Regions from separate parts of the Homo sapiens genome. Here region 2 is linked to region 1. The links are contacts of gene promoters, found by promoter capture Hi-C in human tissues and cell types (Jung and others, 2019). All regions are on one chromosome and are shown on one strand. Each heading gives the region's core, a stretch centred on a gene start or on the middle of the fragment in contact. The rest is flanking DNA. Distances are from core to core; before and after follow the strand shown.

Region 1 (5,047 bases), core at 816-3,315:
GAAAAACAAACATGCTTCTGGCATGTCTTGGATATTTTACACACATGCTAATGAGTAATTGAGGGTCACTCCTCATGCCCTCGAACTAAGTTAATATGGCTCAGGGGAAAGAACATGGACTTTGGAAACAGAGGGGTCTTGCTTCGAATCCCAGTTGAGTTACCTAACACCTACATGACCACTGCCAAGTTACTTAAAACCTCACAGACAATTTCCTTACCTGTGGAAGTAGATAATGGTGTTACTGTGAGATATAAGTAGAATAACTTACAGCACTGCCCCAGCCCAGAAGAGATATTTTAATAAATAAGTCCATAACAGACGCAGATTAAAATAGTCAGCAAGGTAAAGAAACTGATGATACAGCCAGCTGACTTCAATAACATGCCTAAGAGAAATCACACCATCTCAGGCAGTATTTGGTAAGGCCAGAAGAATGTCCAACACTTAGTTCCAATTCTTAATTTTCAAATTGCCCCAGAGTCTATTTTTAAAGTGTAAAAGTATGTGCTGACATACTTACATGCCAATTGTTTAAAAGAAACAATTCTACAGGTTAACAAAGGCCAAAGACTCGGAATAACTTCCTAAATAATGTTTATGGGCCCACAAAGAGTTGAACCAACCTAAAATATCACAAGCTGTATCAATCAGTTTTATAAATGTATATACAGAGGGTTGACAACGTTCAATAAGATGATATTTTAAAAGTTTCTATTTCAGTTTCAAATTCATCTACAAACCAAAATGCAACATGGAAAATCTTAAAATGTCTTTAAGCCACATACTGAAATATACAGTAAATTTTCAGAGCCTAGGATCAGTAGTAAACCAAAAGCCCCAAACTGAAGAGTATTAAAATGAACAATGGCAGAGACTCGAAGCACACAATTTTGAATGCACCTAATCAGCCGTCCTCCTCTCCGACTAGAAATAACTTCCCTCCCATCTTAAATTAAGTAGCGTGTGTTCTGTCTCTGTCCTAGAAGATGTACTTAATGGTCATAAACTCTGTTTGCAACACTGAGACGGACTCATAATAAAAGTTCTAATCAACAATTAAATTTTGAACGTTTTAAGAAAACTTCCCGCTAAGCCACACGCCAAGCTACTTTGTCGGTGGCTGAGAGGGAGAAAGATGCATCCTTATCCTTTATGGAAAGAGAAAGGGAAGGAGTGGGAGAAAAGGGAACACAAGGAGACGAAAAATAACAAAGTATTGCTTGTATAAACAAATGAAAGCCTGGTTTCAAACTTTTGAAAATTCAACGTTCCCTTAGCGAATAGCAATACATATCAAAGTATATGGCAATCATCTGTGTTCTGAAGCAGAAAAAGGTGGAGAGAAAAGCAAAACACTTTTTATTGTACTGAACTCACAAGTATTCAAAATTCATCAATCCCCTCCCATCCCCAAACTCTGGACATTATATCATTTCCAAAATAAATCTGAAACAAAACCATTGGACTAATTTTGGACTCAGCGTAGAACTTTTATGAGTCTTCCAAGCACTCTCCACCCAACAGCCCTGCTGGGCAGTCCCGAATACCCGTTATTTTGGGGGCACGCACGGGCTCGTGCTCTGAGTTCCTGGAAGGAGGCCTCGGGGAGTGACGAGAAACCAGGGGGGTCTGCAGGACTTGGACCGCCGACCGTTCCTCGCTCCCCGGGGCGAGCGGTCTGGACCGCCCGGGAAGTGCCTGCGCCGGCGGTCGTGGGGCCAGTTCCCGCGTGGCAGCTGGGCGCGACACAGGCGCGCCCTCCTCGTCCCTCCCGGGCAGCGTCGGCCGCCCGAGCCCGGGGAGACCCGCCCCGCCCCGCGCCGTCACCCGGGCCCCGTTCCGCAGGGGTGGCTCGCGGCGCCCCACGTCCCTGCGAGAAGCCCGGGATCGCTTCGCGGGGCGCACCGACGAGCCGCCGCTCGCGAGCTCGCCGCCTACCTGGAGGGAGCTCAGGCCCGCGTCGACCGCGCGCTGCCGGTGTCCGCTGGGCGCTCAGCAGCCCCTGGAGCGCGGAGCCGGCGTGGAGAGCGCAGCTCACAGCCGAGACCAGAGCCGCCGGCCACACCCAGTCCCGCACCTCCCAGCAGCCAACTCCGCGGCGCGCCGGAGCCGGGGCGGGGACGTGGCTGGAGGCGCGAGGCGCGAGGCACGAGGCGCGCGGGCCCGGCGGGGACGTGCCGGGGACGCGCAGACCCTCGGAGCGCGCGCAGCCCGGGCGGGGGGCGAAGGGAGCGGGCGCCGCGCGCAGCTTCTGCTTCCTATTTTCTCTCTCGTTTCCTGCCAGAAGGAGAAGAAAAACATTCATTCCCGGGCAGTTTCGTTTTCTTGTTGGTGTGGCGCCGGGGCACGCTGCTAAGTAGCGCCCGTCTAAGTGGCGTGGCCAGTTTCCTTTCCGGCGCTGACAGGCGCCAGTTTGCTTGTTAGCAGGATCGAAGGGCAGAGCTAGAAGACCCCAAAGGCCCCATTTAGGTTTCCCATTCTGGAATTCTAAATGTCAGAAAGTAAACTGAAGCCCAGAGTTGCACAACCTTGCGTTGCAGTCCCCGCTCTTCCATCACTAGTTGTAGGACCGTGTACCGTCTCGGGCCTAAGTTTCGTCATCGCCAAAATAAAGATACTGATACCTGCCTCATAAAGGTGCTAAGCATATTAAATGAAGTGATGTTTGCACGAAGCCTGCCTCCAAATAAATGGCCAATACTTGGAAGTTATTGTTCCTATTGTCATTGATAAAACTGGAAGGCCTTCCAGATATCCCTGCCAAGTCGCTCTTCTCTGCATGAGTTAAACACCACATGCATCTCAATCGAGTTTTTTTTTTTTTCACATTTATCTGGGTGTTTTATGTTTAAAATGTCATAAAATAAATGCATCTATCCAATTTGCTTCCTCTGAAGTCAGTACCGCCTGGGAGCATTTTTCCTCTCCCCACCCCCATTTTTCTTCTGAGTTAATTCCAGTTTGACAGACTGTTGCTATAGCATTCCTTCTCTGACGTCAAACAATTTAAAGAAACAGCCCTGGGTAGCGAAAACTGCAGAGGAGTTCTTTGTGGAGTTTCTGTGCCGGAGAAATGTTCGAACAATATCATCAGATAACTTTAACAACCCCTCAGCCTTCCAATCCTCCTTCTGTAGCTGCTTCCCACTATCACCTGGAATAAATCTATTAGTCCCTTGAAAGAGGTGATGCCATGATAAACACACCCTGTTTGTGACTGTGGGGAAAATGTGACCGTTTTGTATAAAAGCCAGGCCGTGACAAAAATAGAAGCAGCTGTTTCTATTTTCTTTATCCACAGATAAAGAAACTGTGGATAATTTTTCCCCCAAAATTTTCATTTTTACTAATATTAGGAGCATTTTTCCATTAAGAAGAAAGAAATGCCAAATATTCTGCATATCAAAGTGTCAGAAGAGCTCGTTGGGACATGAGTGTTTTGCATCTGTAACTATTTATGTTTTAATGATTAAATCCTGAGTTTTATGATTGTCGTTTTTCGGAGGAAGCAAAGGGAAATTGTTAAAGAGTGCCTATTACGGACCATGCTCTCTGCTTTCTTATACTGTACTTAATCCTCATAATTACCTTGAAGTGTGAATTTTATCCCCATTTTACAGATAAGCAAACTGATGCCCTGGTAAGATTAATTTATCGGAGTCACGAAGGTATTGGTAGAGCCCTGCATGACATCAGATTGGATCAACTCCAAAGCCCACATTCTTTCTTTTTTTTGTTTGTTTTTTTGTTTTGAGACGGAGTCACTGTGCAGTGATGTGATGTCAGCTCACTGCAACCTCCACCTCCAGGATTCAAGCGATTCTCGTGTCTCAGCCTCCCAAGTCTGGGATTACAGGCACAAGCCACCACGCCCGGCTGATTTTTTGTATTTTTAGTAGACACGGGGTTTCACCGTGTTGACCAGGCTGGTCTCAATCTGCTGACCTCAGGTGATCCGCCCACCTCGGCCTCCCAAAGTGCTGGAATTACAGGCGTGAGCCACCGATCCCGGCCCCATATTCTTTCTTTAGATTCTTTTCTGCCTTGTTCCTGTGCACTAGCATTTACCAGATGTTATAAAGCTTTGAGAGCTGGTTGTTGGGTTAAGATTATTTGTTGAAAAACAAGTTGCTGGTATTTAGGAAAACACAGTGGGAAGCAATGAGATAGTCTATTCCAGAAAAGATGAGGGGAAATATAAATGAACAGCTCCTAAACATAAAATACAAAACCTGAAAAGATGTAACAAGAATTTGACTGTCTTTTAAAGAGTTTAAAAGAATGATATCGTCAATCTTCCTGAAAATTTAATGTAGACAAAGAAATTACTAGAAGAATAAAGTCCAAGTACAGAAAAAGGAAAGTTTAATTATTATCCAAACGAATCTACTTCCAAGAATATTGTATTTCTGTTTTGCCATACCTGCTCCATATTGTTCTGGAAAAAAAAAAAAAAACTTACTTGTTAAAGGACAAGCCTATACTGAAAATCTGAAAGTGGAGCTGATTAAAAGAATTTTGTCATCAGGAATGATTTCATAAGAGCACACTAATGCATCTAAGTGATCCAGCAATTCATGATTTTTCCAATGATAATGAAATCCACGAAGAACAAAAGAGAGAGACTGGGAAGGGAGGCAGAGAGAAAGGTGAAGGGGTATGCTATTAACATTTCTGATGCCTGCTGGTTTGTGTAGACAATTGTAGAGATGTATCCTACTTCTGAGGATTAAGCCCCATGATCTTTTGTTTGGGTGCCACTGGCTGATAATTAGATTTCTAACTCATTAGGCCCATGTTCTCAAATCCTACTCTATTAAGAGAGCATAGTGGGGTCCCTACTAGAGAACCTTTGAAGACAAAATCCTTGTCCGTTTCATCTTTGTGTCTGCCATAGTGTTTAACAGAGCACCTTGCATTTGCTAGGTACTCCACGAACAAATAAATGAGTGAATGCACTTGGCTGCTTGTTTTATGCAAATAACCTGCATACCTCACCCCATCCCACACGCTAGTCAGAATCATAGGAGAGGAGAAAGTGGTC
Region 2 (5,370 bases), core at 2,433-4,932, 210 kb after region 1:
CTGAGACATGCCAAAGTTTGAGACCGAGTGATAGGGCACTTACTAGGTGCCATGCATCATTCCAAGCCTTCTAATTATTGCATATATTATTATACCTACATGAACTCATTTAATCATCACAACAACCCTATGTTATATACTATTACCATTTTGCAGATCAGGAAACTCAAGTACAAAGATCACCCAGAGAGTAAGTAGGAGAGCTGGGATGTGAATCTGAATTGTCTGACTCTAGAATCTGTTTTTAAAAAACCATTTTGGCTGGGCGCGGTGGCTCACACCTGTAATCCCAGCACTTTGGGAGGCTGAGGTGGGTGGATCACCTTATGAGGTCAGGAGTTCGAGACCAGCCTGGCCAACATGGTGAAACCCCGTCTCTACTAAAAATACAAAAATTAGCCGGGCTGGGTAGCGGGCGCCTGTAGTCCCAGCTACTCAGGAGGCTGAGGCAGGGAGAATCGCTTGAACCTGGGAGGCAGAGGTTGCAGTGAGCCAAGATCCCGCTATTCCACTCCAGCCTGGGCGACAGAGCGAGACTCTGTCTCAAAAAACAAACAAACAAAACATTTTAACTCGATTTAATTGTACAATTCAGTGGCATTAAATTACATTCGCATGGAAACATTTTAACTCGTTTTAATTGTACAATTCAGTGGCATTAAATTACATTCGCATTGTTGTGTAACTATCACTATGCATTGTTGTGTGAATATCACTACTGTCGATCTCCAGTTTTTCATCCTTCCAAACTGAAACTCTGTATCCATTTGACAATAAACCCCCACTTCTCCCTTCTCCTAGCCCCTTGTAATGTCCATTCAACTTTCTGTCTCTATGAATTTGCTTATTCTAGGCACTTTATATAAGTGGAATCACACAGTATTTGTCCTTTCGTGTCTGGCTTATTTCATTTAGCATAATGTTATCAAGGTTCAGTGTTGTAGCATGCATCAGAATTTCCTTCCTTCTTAAGGCTGAATAATATTCCATCATATATATGTACATGTATTACATTTTATTTGTCCATTCACCTGTTAATGGACATCGGGTTGTTTCTACCTTTTGACTGTTGTGAATAAAGCTGCTTCAGTTGTTGGTGTACAAGTATTTGTTTGAGTCCCTGTAGATTCTCTGCATTTTACCATTGTACTATGCACGTTGCCTTGCAGTCAATGAGACTTCCCATCATAATGTTTACTTGTAGGGAGAAAAAAAAGTTAATTTAGGATCTCTGTGGAAAACTCTTCCTCCTGATGGATAAACTGATACAAGGTAGTAAAGCAAAATTTCAGAGCAGACAGACTTTTTTCCACTTTGAAGATATAAACTTAAAGTAAATCTTATTAGTTTCACATGTCAAAAGCTTCCTTCCAAAAGCAACTAGCTGAAAAGTTGTTCTCGAGCAGTGATTCTCAAGCTTTTTGACCTCTTTATACTCTTTAACTATTTTTGAGAACCGCAAAAAGCTTTTGTGTGATTTCTGTTGCTATTTACCATATTAGAAGTTAAAACTGAGAAAAATTTAAAACAATTTGAACAATTACATTCTATTGGCTTTTGAAATGATGTCATTGCATGTCACGTAGCCTTGGGAAAATGCCACTGTGTGCTATGAGAGAATGAGAGAGAGAAAGGCAAGTAACTTCATGTTATGAAAATAGTTTTGACCTCCCAAATTACTTAAAGACTCTGGGGTGTCAGAGGGTTACCAGGCCTTACTTTGGAAACCAAAGTTCTAGAGTTTAGGCAAGAAGATATAACCACTTATTCCAGTCACTTACCTCACCTGAAATGTAGCCTATGGGTTCACATTAAATTATTATCTTAATTTTAGCTCAACCATAGATGTCATATGTTGCATGCACATTCTTTTTGAAGCAAATTAAAATTTAGAGAGTTTGATTGACACTTTTTGAAAAAATTAGAGCTACTTGAGCTGGGAATTTACTATTTCATAGATAGGATTTTTTTTTTTTTATTCTCTGAACTGTGAGTTTCATTGTAGGGTGACCTGGCTGGGCTGTTTCTTTGGGGAAGCTTAAATGTTAGTGTGATTTTTTTTTCTTCCTTTGGCTACCAGGTAGGAGACTATTCTAATCTCTTGCCTGGAAAATACAGGCCTGTCTACCAGTATTTAGGGAACTGAGTGGGAGTGGAGGGTGAAGGTGGTCTCAGCATCTGGGTATTCGATACCAGCTGGATATTGCCTGTAGGTTCTCAGCTGTGTCCCTGCTTTGCTAAGCTTCTCCCATCATTGCAGGGGCTGGCTCCTGGACATTGCATTTCCCAGAGTCCCTTGGTGGCAAGATTCTGATACTGATTTTTCCAGTAAGAGATTTAGAAGGCAAAAGAGAAGGAGAAGCCACTTTGCTATTGCAACTGTGGCACCTGGTCGATGTGAGGTTTTCCTAGCAGCATCTGAGTGTCCTTCTGGGACACAGTTACCTCAGTGGTGGGGATTCTGACGTCATCTGTGCAGTTTCTTGTGACGCTTGTACATCCTGAGTTCCTGAACATAGGCAGTGATTTCTCTGACTGTGGCTCTCATGCCCTTTCCATGATTTTTTAAGCTTTTAATTTCCTGTATCAAATCTCTTCCTGCCTGTAATACCTGAATAGCATCTATTTTCTGACCAAATCTGGACTGATACACATACATTCTCTTAGTCCCCATGTTCGTGATGGTGCCTCTATTCTTAACTAAGCTCATTCTTCCCCAGCGCTGAAACCTTTGTTTTTGTCTGCTTTAGAGAATCACTCTCTAGTTCTTTGCCAGGAGAGGGAGGGGCCTCTTGGAGTGGAGGTGAGGTTTGGGGCTCTGACGGCTACATAGAAAACCTTTCTCTTTATTTTAGCTCCTACTTCACCCCATCTTCCAGAGTTATCTTGAATTGCCAGTTCTGGAGTCTTTTGGGCATTCTGGGGTGAAGATCAGGTTGGATCTTGGCTTTCCCTGCTGCTGGCCTAGGATTCAGCTCTGTTGCCATCTTAGTCTTTTAGCATTCATTTACCTGCCGTCCAGCTTTCCAGACTTTAGTGCTATAGCTTATGTCTTGAAAAAATCCCTTTGCTGTCCTTTGATTGGGGTTTCAGAAAGGAGTGAAATGGATGTCTTTGTGTCATTTGCCATGTGTACCCTAAAATCCTGCTTTTCTAAAATCATAATCAAGAAGTCACTTGCTGTCCCTTTTGGACAGTAGTTCATTACCTTTAAAGTTGTACCATTTTTAGAGCTTTGGAATGTGAGAGATGATGCTGATCCTGTCAGAAAGACTTTTTGGAAAAGTTCATGTTCTCTGCTCATTTTGGATCTGGACATCTGTGCAACTCTGAATTCTCTTTTTCCTCCCCTGCATTCCTCTCCCTATGGACTGGAGCTCAGTTAAAGGAGCGGCCATCCATTTTAGTGCCCCAGATTGAGAGGTGTATGGTATCATCCATTCTACCTCCCTCTCTCTCTTTTTATTTTTTAAGTTGTGATAAAATACATATAACATAAACTTTACCATCTTAACCATTTTAAAATGTACAGTTCAGTGGCATTGGAGTACATTCACACTGTTTTGCAGTTATCACCACTGTCTGTCTTCAGAATTCTTTTCATCTTGCAAAACAGAAACTCTGTACCCTTTAAACAATGACTCCCTGTTCTCCCCTTTTCTCAGCCTCTGACAACCACCATTCAACTTTTTGTCTCTAAGATTTGGCCACTCTAGGTACTTTATACAAGTGGAATCATGCAATATTTGTCCTTTTTGACTGATTCATTTCACTTGGCATAATGTCCTCAAGGTTAATCCATGTTGTTGTGTCAATTTTCTTCCTTTGTAAGGCAGGATAATATCCCATTGTGTGTATATACCGCATCTTGTTTATCCAGTCATCTGTCAGGGACACTGGGTTGCTTCCACCTTTTGGCTCCTGTGAATAGTGCTGCCATGAACATGGCTATCTCACTGTCTCTTTTAGCATCATATCCCATCAGTCACCAAATTCTGGTATATCCTCCTCTCTCCCTTGCACTGCTAAGGCTCGGGCCCTCATCCTTTCTCACCTGGACTGTGGCAGAAGCTTCCTAACAACCACCTTACTTTCCCTTCCAGTCTGTCACACTACACTCTTGGATATTTTTAAAATAGGGGTCTGATCATCTCATTTGCCCGCCTTGAAATCCTCAATGGTGCCATTCAGACTTTTCTAACATGGCACATCACCTCAGTTTACCTTGTTGATCCAGCTTTCCTGCCCCTCTGCTTACTTTCTGTCTGTCCCAAAAGACTTTCCATTCTCTAGGTGCTCCATGCTCTTGCCCCTCCATGTGCTTGCTCATGCTCTTGCGTTGGCCTGGAATGCATTCTCTCACCCTCATCCTCCTGGAAAAGCCCTGTTCGTCCTTTAAAGCCAGCTCAGATGTTCTTTGTGAGGACTCCTCCCATCCTCAGAAGCTGAGTTAGATATCTGTTTTCCTTTGCCTTCACTTTGTACATCTCTGTCATGGGTGGGATACAGATTGTGGGGATGTGGAATAGCTGAGGTCTTGGAGAATTAAAAGGAAAAGAGTAGAGAACTGAAAACTACACAGTTTGTGAACCTGTGCCATTAAGCCTGCATCTTTTCTGATTTTCTGGGTGTGTTTTTTTTTTTTTGGAGTCTTGGTCTGTCGCTCAGGCTGGAGTGCAGTGGCATGATCTTGGCTCACTGCAACCTCTGCCTCCTGGGTTCAAGCTGGGATTACAGGTGTGTACCACCATGCCCGGATATTTTTTTTGTATTTTTACTAGGGATGGGGTTTCACCATGTTGGTCAGGCTGGTCTCAAACTCCTGACCTCAAATGATCCACCTGCCTTGGCTTCCCAAAGTGCTGGGATTACAGGCATGAGCCACCGCACCCAGCCGCCAATATGATATTTTCATGTTATCTTATTATCTGAAACATCATAGGTTTGACCCTTGAAAAGCCAGGGAAAAGTGTCTCGAGTACTTGCTGAATGTTTTATATGTTGTGATTCTAGGGTGCTTGGTAAAAGATCCCACATTGGGCCCCTCAGGGAGATGACAAGAGGACTGGGATCTATGGTTGCAGATCAGGCCTCTGTCTGGTCTGTTCAGTATTGTGGTGATCAGTTAGGACTCCCCTTGTTCCCAGGCACAGGGAAGATGTGAACAGGAACACCTATTTTTAGGGCTAGAACAACAGGACAATGTAACAATGACAAGAATTTAATGAATCTGAATACGCCTCTGGACAGAGATGTTGCTTGAGGTGCAAGATAGTATGTGCCTCATGTGGTAAGATTAAAAAGGAAAGATGGTGCGTGGTGGCTCACACCTGTAATCCCAGCACTTTGGGAGGCTGAGGTGGGCGGATC

Evidence for each region. Contacts are between HindIII fragments. The study calls those that stand out against the background at their distance.
Region 2: a fragment that was not itself captured here is called in contact with the fragment with the promoter of GNB4 in region 1 in 1 of the 25 tissues and cell types used here (pancreas).

Annotation. Positions count from the first base shown.
Region 1 is chr3:179,449,405-179,454,451 of GRCh38, forward strand. It overlaps GNB4 (G protein subunit beta 4), which reads right to left and starts at 2,066. Exons shown (of 10, transcript NM_021629.4): 1 at 1,942-2,066. It also overlaps the pseudogene RPL29P34. RefSeq lists silencers at 1,637-2,046, 2,087-2,236. The HindIII fragment of the contact is 18,692 bases long and covers 1-5,047 here.
Region 2 is chr3:179,659,498-179,664,867 of GRCh38, forward strand. All of the region lies in intron 1 of USP13 (ubiquitin specific peptidase 13), which reads left to right. Among named protein-coding and RNA genes, the nearest start is that of USP13, 9.1 kb to the left of the region's middle. The HindIII fragment of the contact is 3,863 bases long and covers 1,752-5,370 here.